Regions from separate parts of the Homo sapiens genome. Here all the other regions are linked to region 2. The links are contacts of gene promoters, found by promoter capture Hi-C in blood cells and fetal thymus (Javierre and others, 2016). All regions are on one chromosome and are shown on one strand. The core of a region is centred on a gene start or on the middle of the fragment in contact, and the rest is flanking DNA. Distances in the headings are between cores, read along the strand shown. Region 1 overlaps MAPK1 (mitogen-activated protein kinase 1). Region 2 holds the start of PPM1F (protein phosphatase, Mg2+/Mn2+ dependent 1F). Region 3 overlaps YPEL1 (yippee like 1). Region 4 overlaps YPEL1 (yippee like 1). Region 5 overlaps MAPK1 (mitogen-activated protein kinase 1).

The links. The method cuts DNA at HindIII sites, captures the fragments that hold promoters and counts their contacts. A CHiCAGO score of 5 or more calls a contact.
Region 1: a fragment that was not itself captured here is called in contact with the fragment with the promoter of PPM1F in region 2 in 4 of 17 cell types (neutrophils, M1 macrophages, endothelial precursors and 1 more); the score reaches 6.4 in neutrophils.
Region 3: a fragment that was not itself captured here is called in contact with the fragment with the promoter of PPM1F in region 2 in 17 of 17 cell types (endothelial precursors, M2 macrophages, M1 macrophages and 14 more); the score reaches 16.5 in endothelial precursors.
Region 4: a contact is called between a fragment that was not itself captured here and the fragment with the promoter of PPM1F in region 2, in 8 of 17 cell types (neutrophils, endothelial precursors, M0 macrophages and 5 more). The highest score is 9.9, in neutrophils.
Region 5: a fragment that was not itself captured here is called in contact with the fragment with the promoter of PPM1F in region 2 in 1 of 17 cell types (neutrophils); the score reaches 6.5 in neutrophils.

The regions. Positions count from the first base shown.
Region 1 is chr22:21,759,900-21,762,599 of GRCh38, forward strand. It overlaps MAPK1 (mitogen-activated protein kinase 1), which reads right to left. Exons shown (of 9, transcript NM_002745.5): 9 at 1-2,700. Among named protein-coding and RNA genes, the nearest start is that of YPEL1, 25 kb to the left of the region's middle. The HindIII fragment of the contact is 819 bases long and covers 842-1,660 here.
Region 2 is chr22:21,951,588-21,954,287 of GRCh38, forward strand. It overlaps PPM1F (protein phosphatase, Mg2+/Mn2+ dependent 1F), which reads right to left and starts at 1,261. Exons shown (of 8, transcript NM_014634.4): 1 at 1,205-1,261. RefSeq lists enhancers at 414-483, 530-1,050 and a silencer at 1,044-1,453. The HindIII fragment of the contact is 22,373 bases long and covers 1-2,700 here.
Region 3 is chr22:21,709,184-21,711,883 of GRCh38, forward strand. It overlaps YPEL1 (yippee like 1), which reads right to left. Exons shown (of 5, transcript NM_013313.5): 2 at 1,445-1,725. The coding sequence starts at 1,561. Among named protein-coding and RNA genes, the nearest start is that of YPEL1, 25 kb to the right of the region's middle. RefSeq lists an enhancer at 860-2,059. The HindIII fragment of the contact is 2,601 bases long and covers 2-2,602 here.
Region 4 is chr22:21,729,234-21,731,933 of GRCh38, forward strand. All of the region lies in intron 1 of YPEL1 (yippee like 1), which reads right to left. Among named protein-coding and RNA genes, the nearest start is that of YPEL1, 5.2 kb to the right of the region's middle. RefSeq lists a silencer at 774-961. The HindIII fragment of the contact is 9,152 bases long and covers 1-2,700 here.
Region 5 is chr22:21,820,466-21,823,165 of GRCh38, forward strand. The region is part of intron 1 of MAPK1 (mitogen-activated protein kinase 1); the gene reads right to left. Among named protein-coding and RNA genes, the nearest start is that of MAPK1, 46 kb to the right of the region's middle. The HindIII fragment of the contact is 3,359 bases long and covers 1-2,700 here.

The DNA.
Region 1 (2,700 bases), core at 1-2,500, 190 kb before region 2:
AACACCACATCCAAAACATTTTCCAGTATCTTTGTTTTGTAAATAAGTCATTACATAATGCCCAATATTGATAAGAACCAAATGTCCAAGAAATCCTATCTTTATGACTTCTTGCTCTGAAAAAAGGGGTTGCCCAGGATGTCTGCCCAGCAGTGGGGTTGCAGAAGTTCAGGAGGATGAGGAGATGGGCGTGGGCACCGCCTACCCCCCCCCCCACAGGTGAAGGTCTGAAGAACCACCTGGAGAACCCTAGGAGCACTGACATCCCCATTCAACTCGAGGAACAGCTCACAGCCCTAACACAAGTTACCACATGCAGAGCAAATCTGGAAGACATCTGGGGAACATAACGAAGGACTAGACAATTTCACGTTTTCACAGATGAAACTGCAATTAAACTATACATGCACGGTGCTGTGTTATTTTGGTAATACAGGGACACAATTTAATGATTCTAAGGATTTTTTTGTAGTTTTTTTTTTTTACAAGTCAGGTGCCATAAACATTCAAATAATCCATCTTTTAAAAAGTACGTTTACAACATCAAAAGAATTAAGATGAAATATAAACCTTTCTACTTACAATTTTTATACAGATTAACCAAATCACAAATACCACAAATAAATGTTAATGTTAAATTGTAACAATATAATGAATAAACATTCAGATTCTTAATAAAATCTTCCTTTAACATTTTTTAACTTACCATTATACTAAATAATCTATGCAGAATTTTGGGGTACAATACCAAGAAGGCACCAACAGTACAAAGCAGATACAAAGCAGTTTCAGAACTTTCTTGAGTGCTCTACACGCATAAACAGCACAAGAAAAGGCAACAAGCTTTAGGTAAACCTGGTGCAACCCTGGAGGACTTGCTCTGGATTTCCATTTGTTTCTGACCCATCATGTCAAGGTGGATGACGTAAGAGAAACCACATATTCACTGTTATAGCTTCTCATCTGCACCACAGGAGTATCATGTTTCAAACACCAGCATAACAATTTTAAAGCACAAATGCTTTAAAAATGTATAAGCAAAAGGATTGCTCAGATTTTCAAAACCATTACATTTACAAAAATATTTCCCTTAAACTTGGGATTGCTCCAAAACATTGATTTACAAATATAAAAGTATTATGGAAGGACCCAAAGCATGTGTGCGTATGTATGTGTGTATTAACATACTGTTACCATACTATATAAAAGTTACCAATTTAAAAACCATATTAACATATAAGCAAATAAAGAGAAAACAGTTTCCTCTGAATGGCTGAAATATTACGTGGCATGTGGTTGGGTAGTTTACTTTTGTGATTCCTTAGAGAAAACCACTGGTGAGCTACATGTAGCTTCTCAAAGCTACTGGTTACCTCTACACCCACTGCCTGTGCCCAAGAGCAGAAGGAATGAGTGTGCACACACCACACACTGTGCACTGCACACACAATACAGTATTCTTCTACCCAGATGCCACAATGTCTGCGTATCTCTGCTAGCTTTGAGGACCTGTGTCAGGACAGAGTCCTCATGATTAGTTCTTTCAATTCCATCCCACTGGCTTGTTCAGTATTTCTTTTATACTAAATGAAAGGACTGGAATGTTTCAGCAGGAATTTTTTGCTTACATTTTAGACACCAAAAAAGCTATTAGTCTGAAAGCTTATTTGAACATACAAATAGTGGAGGTGCTGTTCCGTGTCACTAATATGAATTAAGATGACCTAATCTGTACATTTTTACAAATGTAAGAAGAGCCAAAATGATGCATCTACTACACATGATAGCTAGCGCTTTTCATAGGTACCTTGGTTAGGACCATTCTCTGCCCAGTTACATTATGTTTGGCATGATTAATAAAAAGCACACAACTTATGGCTACAATGATTCTAGAATGAAGTTAGTGGTTTCATGCCAATCTGACTCCACAGTACCAGGAAGGGGAATGGGAAGGAGCTCACAGTCTCCAGATGTTAGTAGCCAAGGATATGGTTTTCTATTTAGAAGAGGACTCCAAATTAACCTTATAATAGTAACTTTCCATTTAAAAAGAAACAAGAGTAATAAAACTGTCAATGCTTTTTTATAAATGAAAACTGACTAATCAGTGTTATCCGGTAACAGTCACATTTCTGTGTCCCGTCAATGCTGTGTGGACCTTCAGACGGCAGCTCTGAGCACGCAAGTGAAAAGCGCGTATTTCAGGGCAAGAATAGAGATGTGGGTCTGTTTTCCGAGGATGAGCCAGCTATCCTTCCTCAGCCACAGGAGTGGTGAGCGTGAGCACCCTGGGCTGGGTGGTGAGGACTGCGTACTGTGGGGCGGCCCTTCCCAACTCTTGGCTGTGCCCAGCAGCACCTCTGGGGCACAAGGGCAGGCCCTCTTTAGAGAGAACCAGGGAATCCAACCTGAGATGTCGGGGCTTCTTTGTTAGGGTTTGACAGAATATTTGAGACCTAAGATTGTGAATAAAGGAACATGACAGCATCGATTCTCTGCCGAGCAGAGGTAAAAAGGACCCTACAGAAGTACCTTTCTAACTCATCTTATGTAAATCCAAGTGCTGGGCCAGTGCCTGGGCGGCAAAGTGAGGCCTGTGAGCATTTCTGTGTTCAGCACAACCTGAACCTGACTGTCCATTCAGACACGCTGATCCAGAGGAAAGCAACACTGAATCTTAACATGAATGTGAAGATAGAA
Region 2 (2,700 bases), core at 11-2,510:
ATGCCTGCCTCGGCCTCCCAAAGTGCTGGGATTACAGGTATGAGCCACCGCGCCCGGCCTTCAGGGGGTATCTTAAAGGAATTCCACAAATGAACTTGTGTAGAGGTTCATGGCTTTCAGAAATGCATTCGTTTTGTTTACCTCTCACAACTACGCTGAGAAGTACATACTGTCAGGCTACACTGCAGATGAAGAAATAGGTTATAGGAGGGCAAGCACCCATTTAAGGTCTCACACAGGTGAAAGGGCAAAGCGAACTCAATCAAGGTCTCTGGATGCCCAATGCCTTTGGTATTTCCACCTCGCGTGCAGGAGGAAAAGAGCGAAATTTGACAACAGAAGAGACTGGAGATGGCCTCAGAGTGCTGGCCGGCCCCACTTTCTATCCCCCGTGGTGAGAGCTCAGCTGGGCCCAGAGAACTTGTCCCGGGGAATGCCACCACGACATGTGTGACTCTGTCCCGCAGGGTGGAAGGCTTCGAAGGAGCCCGCCACCATGCAGTGGGCCTCACTGTGTGTCAAGCGCTGTGCCGAAATCCCTGCAGCCGGAGCCAGTTCTTCCTGTTGTACAGACAGGTTCAGGGGCTTGCCTGACCGAACCCAGCGGCAATGTGCCCGGCCTCCGCGCCTGAGGCTCTGGCTCACAGACCTGTGGCTGAAGCAGCTGCAGCCCGAGCACTTGTGCAGCTGACGCTCGCTTCACGGACGCTTGGGAGGCCGCGGAGCCGGGGGCCATCAGGCAGACTGGGCCCCTGAAGGTGCAGGGACTGGGGGGATATGGGGCAACGTGCCGGCCCAGAGGCTCCTGGGGGGTGGGGAGAGGCCAAATCTCGGAAAATGGGGCGCGTCCCCCTCAGCACCCGATTCTGCCTCATAGCCCTCGGTCCCTACCAGGCCCTCGGCTCGGCCACACCCCCGCCTGCCCCCCAGTTCTGCCCCCTTGGCTCCCCAGCCCCCCAACTCCCAGCCTCGGGTTCCTCATGTCCGCAGCGGCCCCTCTTGCTCCTCGGCCCCCCGCACTGCACCCCCGCACCCTTTCGGTGCACCCATGTGAGCCTCGTCTCGGCCTCCTTGCCTCCCCAGCCCTCTGATTCCACCCCTCCGGTTCCTCGGTCCCATTTCACCCCTGTGCGCCTTGGGCGCTCGCCTGACCCTCGTCCCAGCCCCGTCAGCCCTCTAATCCCGTCCCCCCCGGCCTCCTCACCCCTGGTCTCCGCGGGCCTCAGCTGTCTCCTCGCGGCTCCGTGTCCCGCAAGCTGCTGCCGGCCGGCCCCGCCCACTTCCCGTCCCTGGCCGCCGCGGGCGCCGCGGGCGCCGCGCAGGCGCAGTCGGGCCTCCAGGCTGGCGGGGCCGGACCTCTGCTGCCCCCTGGCGGCTACGTGGACGGTGACTGCGGCCCTTTAGTGGTAGGCGAACTGCGGCTCCACCTGGGCTCCGGAGCCGCCCCAGTCACCAGCCTCTTGCTTCTCTTCTGCAGCTTTGGGTGGGCGGCTGGATGGGGAAAGCAATCCCTAGGTCACAGCGCCCAGAAATTAAGCAACTTCTGCCGTCAATAGCTGGTAAGTGACAGAGCAGGGATGCAAACCCAGACTGCCCAGGCAGGCTCATCCGTCCGGGAAGGAGGCACAGTCCCAGGCTCATTATGAGTTGTTTGTTTCCACAAACGTTGAGGCTTTTGTTATCTTTCCGTTCTGGAGGTCAGAAGTCCACTTAGCCTCAGTGGGCGAAGATCCAGGGATCGCCAGAATGCGTTCCTTTCTGAGGATTCTAGGGGAGAAACTGTTCCCCTGCCTTTTCCAGCTCCTAAGGGCTCCCTGCATACCTTGGCTCGTGGCCCCTTCCTACAGCCTCGAAGCCAGCAATGGCCAGTTGAGCCTTTCTCACACTGCCACCTCTGGTTCCCTCCTCTGCTTCCTTCTGCTACTTCTAAAGACCCTCCTGATGCCATTGGGCCCACCCAGATAGTCCAGCATCATCTCTCTAAATCAGTTGATTAGCAACCTTAATTCCCCTTTGCCCCTTATTATTATTATTATTTTTTTTTGACACGGAGTCTCACCCTGTCACCCAGGCTGTACTGCAGTGGCATGACCTCGACTCACTGCAACCTCTGCCTCCCTGGTTCAAGCGATTTTCCTGCCTCAGCCTCCCGAGTAGCTGGGACTGCAGGCACGCACCACCATGCCCGGCTAATTTTTTTTGTATTTTTAGTAGAGATGGGGTTTCACCATGTTGGTCAGGCTGGTCTCAAACTCCTGACCTCAAATGATCTGCCTGCCTCGGCCTCCCAAAGTGCTGGGATTACAGTACAGGCGTGAGCCACTATGCCGGGTCTGCCATGTAATCTAACACAGGCACAGGTATAGGACATGAACATCTCTGAAGGGCCATTTTTCTGCCAACACAGAGGCTCTTGAAAATATTCTTTTTCTCTCTTTTTAGAGACAAGCTCCTTCTCTGGTGCCCACACTGGAGTGCAGTGGCATGATCACAGCTCACTGCAGCCTCAAACTCCTGGGCTCAAGTGACCCTCCCCTCCTGCCTCAGCCTTCCTAGTGTCTGGGAACACAGGCAAGCACCACCACGCCCAGCTGATTAAAAAAAATTTGTAGAGACAGGGTCTCTATGTTGCCCAGGCTGGTCTTGAACTCTTGGGCTCAAGTGATCCTCCTGCCTCAGCCTTCCCAAGTGCTGGGATTA
Region 3 (2,700 bases), core at 52-2,551, 240 kb before region 2:
AAGCTTCACTGCCCCTACCCAGGGGCCCAGAGCAGCTCCGCCTCTCATTACCTCATGTCATTTTACACACTAAGCCTACCTCAGAAAACACCGAGGAAATGGGGTGCCTGGCTCCTTCCACTTCTCACCTCACACTTCCCAGTGCACACAGGAGCCCCAGAGGCAATGAGAGAGCAGAAACTCTGCCTCGTTCAACAGTTTCTATCTCAGATGATGAACAGAAATGAGGAGCCTCTCACTATTACCTACTGAAAATACAAGCAGGTAAATGTTCTTCTCTTGAGTTAAACAGGAAACCTAAGAGATTCCTGGCTGGGCGTGGTGACTCACACCTATAATCCCAGCACTTTGGGAGGCCAAGGCAGGAGGATCGCTTGAGGCCAGGAGTACAAGACCAGCCTTGGCAACATGGTAAAACCCTGTCTCTACAAGAAAAAATAAAAGTAAATAAAATACCTATTTAAAAAAAGAAGAAAAGATTTCTGAAAGGCACAACTTCCTGACAAACTTTGTTCCCAAAGTGGTCGTGACCTGTGAAGATGGGGAGACGTCATGACCTGAGGATGGGGGGAGGTCATGGCCTGTGAGGATGGGGGGAGGTCATGACCTATAAGGATGAGTGGAGGTAATGATCCGTGAGGATGGGTGCAAGTCATGAATTGAGCATGGGGGAGGTCATGACCTGTGAGGATGTGGGAGGTCATGACCTGAGGATCGGTGGTCATGACGTATGAGGATGCGGGGAGTTCATGACCTGAGGCTGGGGGGATGTCATGACCTGAGGATGGGTGGAGAACACTGTCATTCCGACTGAGCATCAGCTCCTCCATGATGTTTGGCCTGTTTAAATGTTCACAACTGGTTGATGATCAACGCCACACACTGCTAATGAGGAGCTCAGCACAGTAAGGAGGGGCCAGGGGATCTTGTTTACATCTTCAAGGCTGCTCATGGGTTCTATGCACAGAGACCAGCCAGAGCTTCACCCAGGGCTCCTACACAACCGACAAACGCAGCCACACCCTCTGGGGCATTTTTCTGAGCAACCCCTTTCCTTCTTAACCATGCTGAGTTTTTAAAATGTCTTAATACCCTTATTATTAAACCATTTCCACAGATTTTTCTAGACTTCTTTTGCTCATTCAGTCCTCTCTGGCTTTCTGCTGTGAGTAACAAGTGATTCACCTTGCCCCTCGTAATCCCTGGGAGTGCCAGCTGCCTGGCCCTGGAAAACCGCCCACCATGCCAGGATCACATCTGAGATCGTGGCACAGCCACACTTAACCATGCACAAAACGCTCACCAATGCTGCCTAGAAGGCTCTAGACGTTCAGGACACAGCAGACTCAGGAAGTCATGTGATGCTTAAATATTCTTCCACTATGTAGGTACCACAATGACAGATAATCATTGTGCCATCAATTTTTTGGCATAAGCCACTTGCCTTGGAGATGAGCTCGTCATGATTGGCCAGGTGTGCTCTGCAGTGGATACAGCTGTACGTTCGGTGACAGTTCGGCAGATACGCTTGGAAAGTTTTGGACTTTGTCATTTTCACCATCTCTCCTGGGCACTCCTCACTCAGCTCAGGGCTGGTTCTGGAAGAACCGTGGCTCTGCTGGCCTCTCTGACAAAAGCAACACTGGAAAATGCACGCAAGAGCCGTCGTTGTCCAGGAGGGCGTGTGGCACTGTCCACACAGCTGGGACGAGAGAAAAACGTAACCTGCCAACCAATCAGACAAAGTGGTGGGTTACAGAGAGAACATGCGTGTGAAGCAGGTACATATGGGATTCATGTGTTGTGAAGCAACACGCGGGGTGGGGGGGTGGCAGGACTAGAATTTTTTTTTTTTTTTGAGATGGAGTCTCACTCTGTTGCCCAGGCTGGAGTGCAGTGGCGCAATCTCAGCTCGCTGCAACCTCCTCCTCCTGGGTTCAAGCGATTCTTCTACCTCAGCCTCTGAGTAGCTGGGATTACAGGAACACGCCACCAAGCCTGGCCTCCCAAAGTGCTGGGATTACAAGCACCACTGCGCCTGACCAAGATCCAACTCTTTAGTATCAATTGTAGACAAAATGAACACTGACACCATGCCACTGCTTAACCACTTTACATTTAGTTGGAAGTGAAAAAATGAACTCCTTTTACATGCAAATAATTTGAGAAAAACATTGATTCAAATTCTTCTTATACCAGGTTTGGCTTTGGAAACATGAAAGGAGAGGCAGAACCAAGACGCCCGGTGAGTGGGCCCGGTGGCAGGGCTGGATGCACCCCACCCCGAATCCGGGAATTCACCACGCAGAGCACCAGGACATTGAGGAATGTGAGTGATGGATCCAGTATTATTTAATCTTTAAGAAATTCCAGTCCTGAAATAAACCCTTATGTATGGTCACATGATCTTCAACAGGGTGTCAAGACCATTCAATGGGGAAAGGACAGTCTTTCAACAAATGGTGTCACAACAACTGGATATCCACCTGCAAAAATATAAAGTTGGACTCTTACCTAACACCGTATACAAATTAACTCAAAATAAAAGACCTAAATGTGAGAGCTAAGACTATAAAACTCTTAGAAGGAAACACAGGGGAAAAGCTTCATGACATTGGATGTGGCAATCATCTCTTGGATACGATACCAAAAGCATGGGCAGCAAAAGAAAAACAGACACATTAGACTTCGTAAAAATTC
Region 4 (2,700 bases), core at 143-2,642, 220 kb before region 2:
CCAGGAGGGAGAGGTTGCAGTGAGCCGAGATCACACCACTGCACTCCAGCATTGGTGACAGAGTACGATCTTATCTCAAAAAAAAAGTTGATAAGGTCAGGGGTGGCCCATGCCTGTAATCCCAGTGTTTTGGGAGGCCAAGGTGGGAAGATTACTTGAGGCCAGGAGTTCAAGATCAGCCTGGCCAACACAGCAAGACCCCCATCTCTAAAAAAAAAAAAAAAAATGAGCTGGGTGTGCACCTGTAGTCCCAGCTACTTGGGAGGCTGAGATGGGAGGATCACTTGAGGCCAGGAGGTCAAGGTTGCTGTGAGCCATGATCACACCACTGCACTCCAGGCTGGGCGACAGAGCGAGACAGTCTCTACAAATAATAAATTAAATTTAAAAATTTAAGAAGTTGACAACACCACTGGTGAAGGTGCTCTGTGATCCAGCCATTTGGCAACACCCACAACATTCCTAGGAGCACAGCCCTGGATGGGGGTTCATCTGGGGAGTTCACCTTTGGCTGATGCACATGTGCAAAATAACTGGATAAAAGCAGTTATTACCTGAAATAACAAAATATCATCCTATAATAATACTGCCTGTAATAAAAGATTAGAAACCACCTCAAGTTTAACCAATAGAGGCTAGCACGGTGGCTCACATCTGTAATCCCAGCACTTTAGGAGGCCGAGATGGGCAGATCACCTGAGGTCTGGAGATCGAGACCAGCCTGGCCAACCAACATGGTGAAACCTCGTCTCTACTAAAAATACAAAAATTAGCTCGGTGTGGTGGTGGGCACCTTTAGTCTCAGCTACTAGGGAGGCTGAGGCGGGAGAACTGCTTGAACCCGGGAGGCAGAGGTTGTGGTGAGCCAAGATTGTGCCACTGTACTCCAGCCTGGGCAACAGAGCGAGACTCCTTCTCAACAAAAGCAACAACAACAACAAAGTTTAACCAAAAGAGACTGGCCAAATGCACTGATAAACACACATCAGGGACATTTCCATCATGGGGCTTCCAGAGTCTCGCTCTGTCTCCCAGGCTGGAGTGCAGTAGCACGATCTTGGCTCACTGCAGCCTCCGCCTCCTGGATTCAAGCAATTCTTGTGCCTCAGTCTCCCAAATAGCTGGGACTACAGGCACCTCCCACCATGCCTGGCTAAGTTTGTATTTTTAGTAGAGATGGGGTTTCACCATGTTGGCCAGGCTTGCCTTGAACTCCTGACCTCAAGTGATCCACCCGCCTTGGCCTCCCAAAGTGTTGGGATTACAGGCGTGAGCTACAGCATCTGGCCCACACTGACTATTCAAACTCTCACATAGTACATGAAGTCACAGGTGTGGAAAGGTCTGGAAAAATTTACAACAAAGGGCAACAGCATGGGTACAATTTGCCTTTGGCAATTCCAGCTTCCATCCACACACATCCACTTCCTCCCTACTTGCATTACAGGAGGAAAAGCTCCCCTCCACATTTCAGGAACTGCAGCCTAGGTGCACAATGGGACTCACTGACAGCATCAAACCACCTATATGGCTGCCCTGAGACAAAGCTCCATGGCCCTCTGTAGACTCCCCACCAGCCCCTGCTCTCTGGGGAACCCAAGGGGCCTGGCTCCTCCATTGCCCAGTGGCCCCAGGTGCCTCGGCCCTCCAGGCTCTCTCCTCCATCTCTCCTCCCACCTGTGCTCAAGTACTACCTCTACCACCTCTCCTGAGACTACTGATAATGTGCTTGTACTGAGCGCTTCTTTTCAAAGAACCTGTACTACATTTTTTTTTCTACCATTAGTAACAAAGTTTCCCACAACCAAGGCCCTGGGACACATCCCAGTAGAGGTGCTTTCTTGCTAACAACAAGAAGAGGGGGCTGTGCATGGTGACTCATGCCTGTAATCCCAGCACTTTAAGAGGCCAAGGTGGGAGGATCATCTGAGGTCAGGAGTTCGAGACCAGCCTGGGCAACATGGCGAAAACCCGTCTCTAAAAAAAAATTTAAAAATTAACCAGGTGTGGTGGCACGTGCCTGTCGTCCCAGCTACTCGGGAGGCTGAGGTGATCGCCACTGCACTCCAGCCTGGATGACAGAGTGAGACCCTGTGTCAAAAAAAAAAAAGAAAGAAAAGGGGAGGTGTAGGAACTATGTGCAACACTAGCCTTGTTAGGTTGAAAGAGTGGGTACCACACCCAGAAGACTGGATTGAGATAGAAGAAAAGAGGTTGAGAATCTTAAAAACTACTTTATTTACCCTCATGCTAAATAAAGTCTCATCAGACATTAAAGGCCCTGTCTTGGGGCAAGAGAAGGGGGGAAAAAAAAAAAAAAAAACAGATACACAAAGAGGAACCAGAAAAGGTGAGGGGGAAGCGTTTGGGTGGCGGGGGTATATGCCAATGCTGCTGAGAAGGCAGGTGGCACCACGAGGGAGGGAGTAGGTGAGGTTTGGCAACAGGGATGTCATCACCCCCAGGACAAAGGTGAAAGAGGGTCTGACTTGCTTTGAGAGGCTTCCCAGGCTTTGATGCAAAATGTGCCACGTGTTTGTTGGCTCTGGGACCTGAAGCCAAGTTCTGCTACCTTCTTTGTAAAGTGGGGTAACGTGCAATTTACAGGGCAGTCAGAGTCACATGAGATGTTAAGGGGGATGATCCTTGGGCACAGTTTAGGTGTCTGACCAGGGCCTTACGGCAGGAGCATGTGTCACT
Region 5 (2,700 bases), core at 53-2,552, 130 kb before region 2:
GGCGTGTGCCACCATGCCCGGCTAATTTTTGTATTTTTAGTAGAGACGGGGTTTCACCATGTTCGTCAGGCTGGTCTTGAACTCCTGACCTTGTGATTCGCCCGCCTCAGCCTCCCAAAGTGCTGGGATTACAGGCATGAGCCACTGCGCCCGCCCGTCTCCTCCTTTCAACACCATATTTACTACCGTGTGAAAAGCAACAAATGTTAATATGGTTAATGCAATACACAGTACTTTAAAGTCTTGTTTCTTCCTATGTGAAGACTTCCGTTTTTGGTGTATTTTATATGAGGCAGACATATACACTCATTAGCAATTTAAGTACATTAAAGGTATTAAAAAACAGAATTCTTTTTTTTTTTTTTTTTTGAGACGGAGTCTCGCTGTGTCTCCCAAGGTTGGAGTGCAGTGGCGCGATCTCGGCTCACTGCAAGCTCCGCCTCCCAGGTTCATGCCATTCTCCTGCCTCAGCCTCCCAAGTAGCTGGGACTACAGGCGCCCGCCAACACGCCCGGCTAATTTTTTGTATTTTTAGTAGAAACGGGGTTTCACCGTGTTAGCCAAGATGGTCTCGATCTCCTGACCTCGTGATCCGCCCGTCTCGGCCTCCCAAAGTGCTAGGATTACAGGCGTGAGCCACCGCGCCCGGCCAAAAAACAGAATTCTTAGGAGCTTGAGGATTCTGTTTCACAAAAAAAGACTGACAGTACTCGAAATCAATCTTATTATAGATTGGTGGGGTTTGTGATTAAGTATGAAGAATAAGAAATGTCCATGTCTGCCCATGAAATCATTTTCTCACTATGCTCTGATTAAAACTGACAAACATTTAAACTGAGATTAAAAATAAATTCTACACATTAATCATTTACGCATTCACTTTAAACTTGCTTACACTTACTGATAATACTGCTTTGTCTTAGTTTATAGATGTATATTACTCAAAATATTTACAGTTCATTTATTGGGAACCAGGTAATGATGGTATTGAAAAGAAGTTATGAACAATTCTCACTTAATAATACCTACAATTTATTGAGTGTTTATTATCTGTCAGGCTCTGCTCTATGTTAGTATCTGTGGACCTCTCTCTAAGAAGGTGGTATTTAATGGTGCCTTGAAAAGCAGGTAGGATTTTAATAGGCAGCACACGAAAAAGCACTTAAGGAAGAAGGAGCTACAGAAGCTGAAGCACGGAAGGCTGGGTACCAGGTGCTGGATAGTTCAATATGGCTGGAGTTTACACCTGTCCAGGGGAAGAACAAAAGGTGATGTTACTAAAAAGCTGAGAAATCTGTACTTTACTTCAATAACAGAAGATGAAGAGTCTGGATGTGGTGGCTCATGCCTGTAATCCCAGCACTTTGGGAGGCTGAGGCAGGTGGACCACCTGAGGTCAGGAGTTCAAGACCAGCCTGGCCAACATGGTGAAACCCTGTATCTACTAAAAACACAAAAATTAGGCATGGTTGTGCGTGCCTGTAATCCCAGCTACTTGGGAGGCTGAGGCAGGAGCATCACTTGAACCCAGAAGGCGGTGGCTGCAGTGAGCCAAGATCATGCCATTGCACTCCAGCCTGGGTGACAGAGTGAGACTCTGTCTCAGGGAAGGCAGGGGAGGGGAGGGGAGGGGAAGGGAATCAGAAACACAGGTATAGAACTGACTGAAGGCCAGGCGTGGTGGCTCACGCCTGTAATCCCAAGCACTTTGGGAGGCTAAGGCAGGTGGATCACCTGGAGTCAGGAGTTTAAGACCAGCATGACCAACATGGTGAAACCCTGTCTCTACCAAAAATACAAAAATTAGCCAGGCACGTAGTGGCAGGCTCCTGTAATTCTAGCTACCTGGGAGGCTGAGGCAGAAGAACTGCTTGAACCCAGGAGGTGGAGGGTGCAGTGAACCGAGATCGTGCCACTGCACTCCAGCCTGGGCGACAGAGCAAAACTCCATTTCAAAAAGGAAAAAAAAAGAAAAAAAAAACTGACTAAAGAGGCTAAAACTAGACATAGGGAGACCAGTTATAATTCTTGAAATATCTATACCCATCAACACTTTGAAATTACAGTGCTTGTTAGACCTGCTGCCTGATCTTGCTATTTACGGCATTAGTAAAGAAGCACATATAAAGACTTCTTAATTTTTCAAAAGTGGTATTTCAGCATAACTGATTCCCTTTGTAATCTCACATTTTATTTTATTCATTTAAAATATTAATCTGAAAAGGAGCCACAAGTTTCACCAACTGCCTAAAGGATTCACGTCATTAAAAAAAAAAAAAAAAGATGAGAACTCTTGTTATAAGGGCAATTTATAGATTCAGTGGAAATGGCAGAGACAGGAAACTAGTACAGAAGTTTGTATTCAAGAGAAAAAAAACGTCAGTTTGGGATCGTAAAGGATGTGCATCAAATAACTTTAAAAACATTTGAATGTTAAAGTTAATTTTATTTATCAAATAATCACCTACATTATGTTAAGCACTGTGGATAAAGCAGTAAAAATATAAAGCTCTCTGCCCTCATAAACTATGAGAGGAGATAGACATAGAGGCTGGGTGCAGTGGCTCATGCCTGTAATCCCAGCACTTTGGGAGGCTGCGGCGGGTGGATCACCTGAGGTCAGGAGTTTGAGACCTGCCTGATCAATATGGTGAAACTCCATCTCTACTGAAAATACAAAAATTAGTTGGGCGTGGTGCC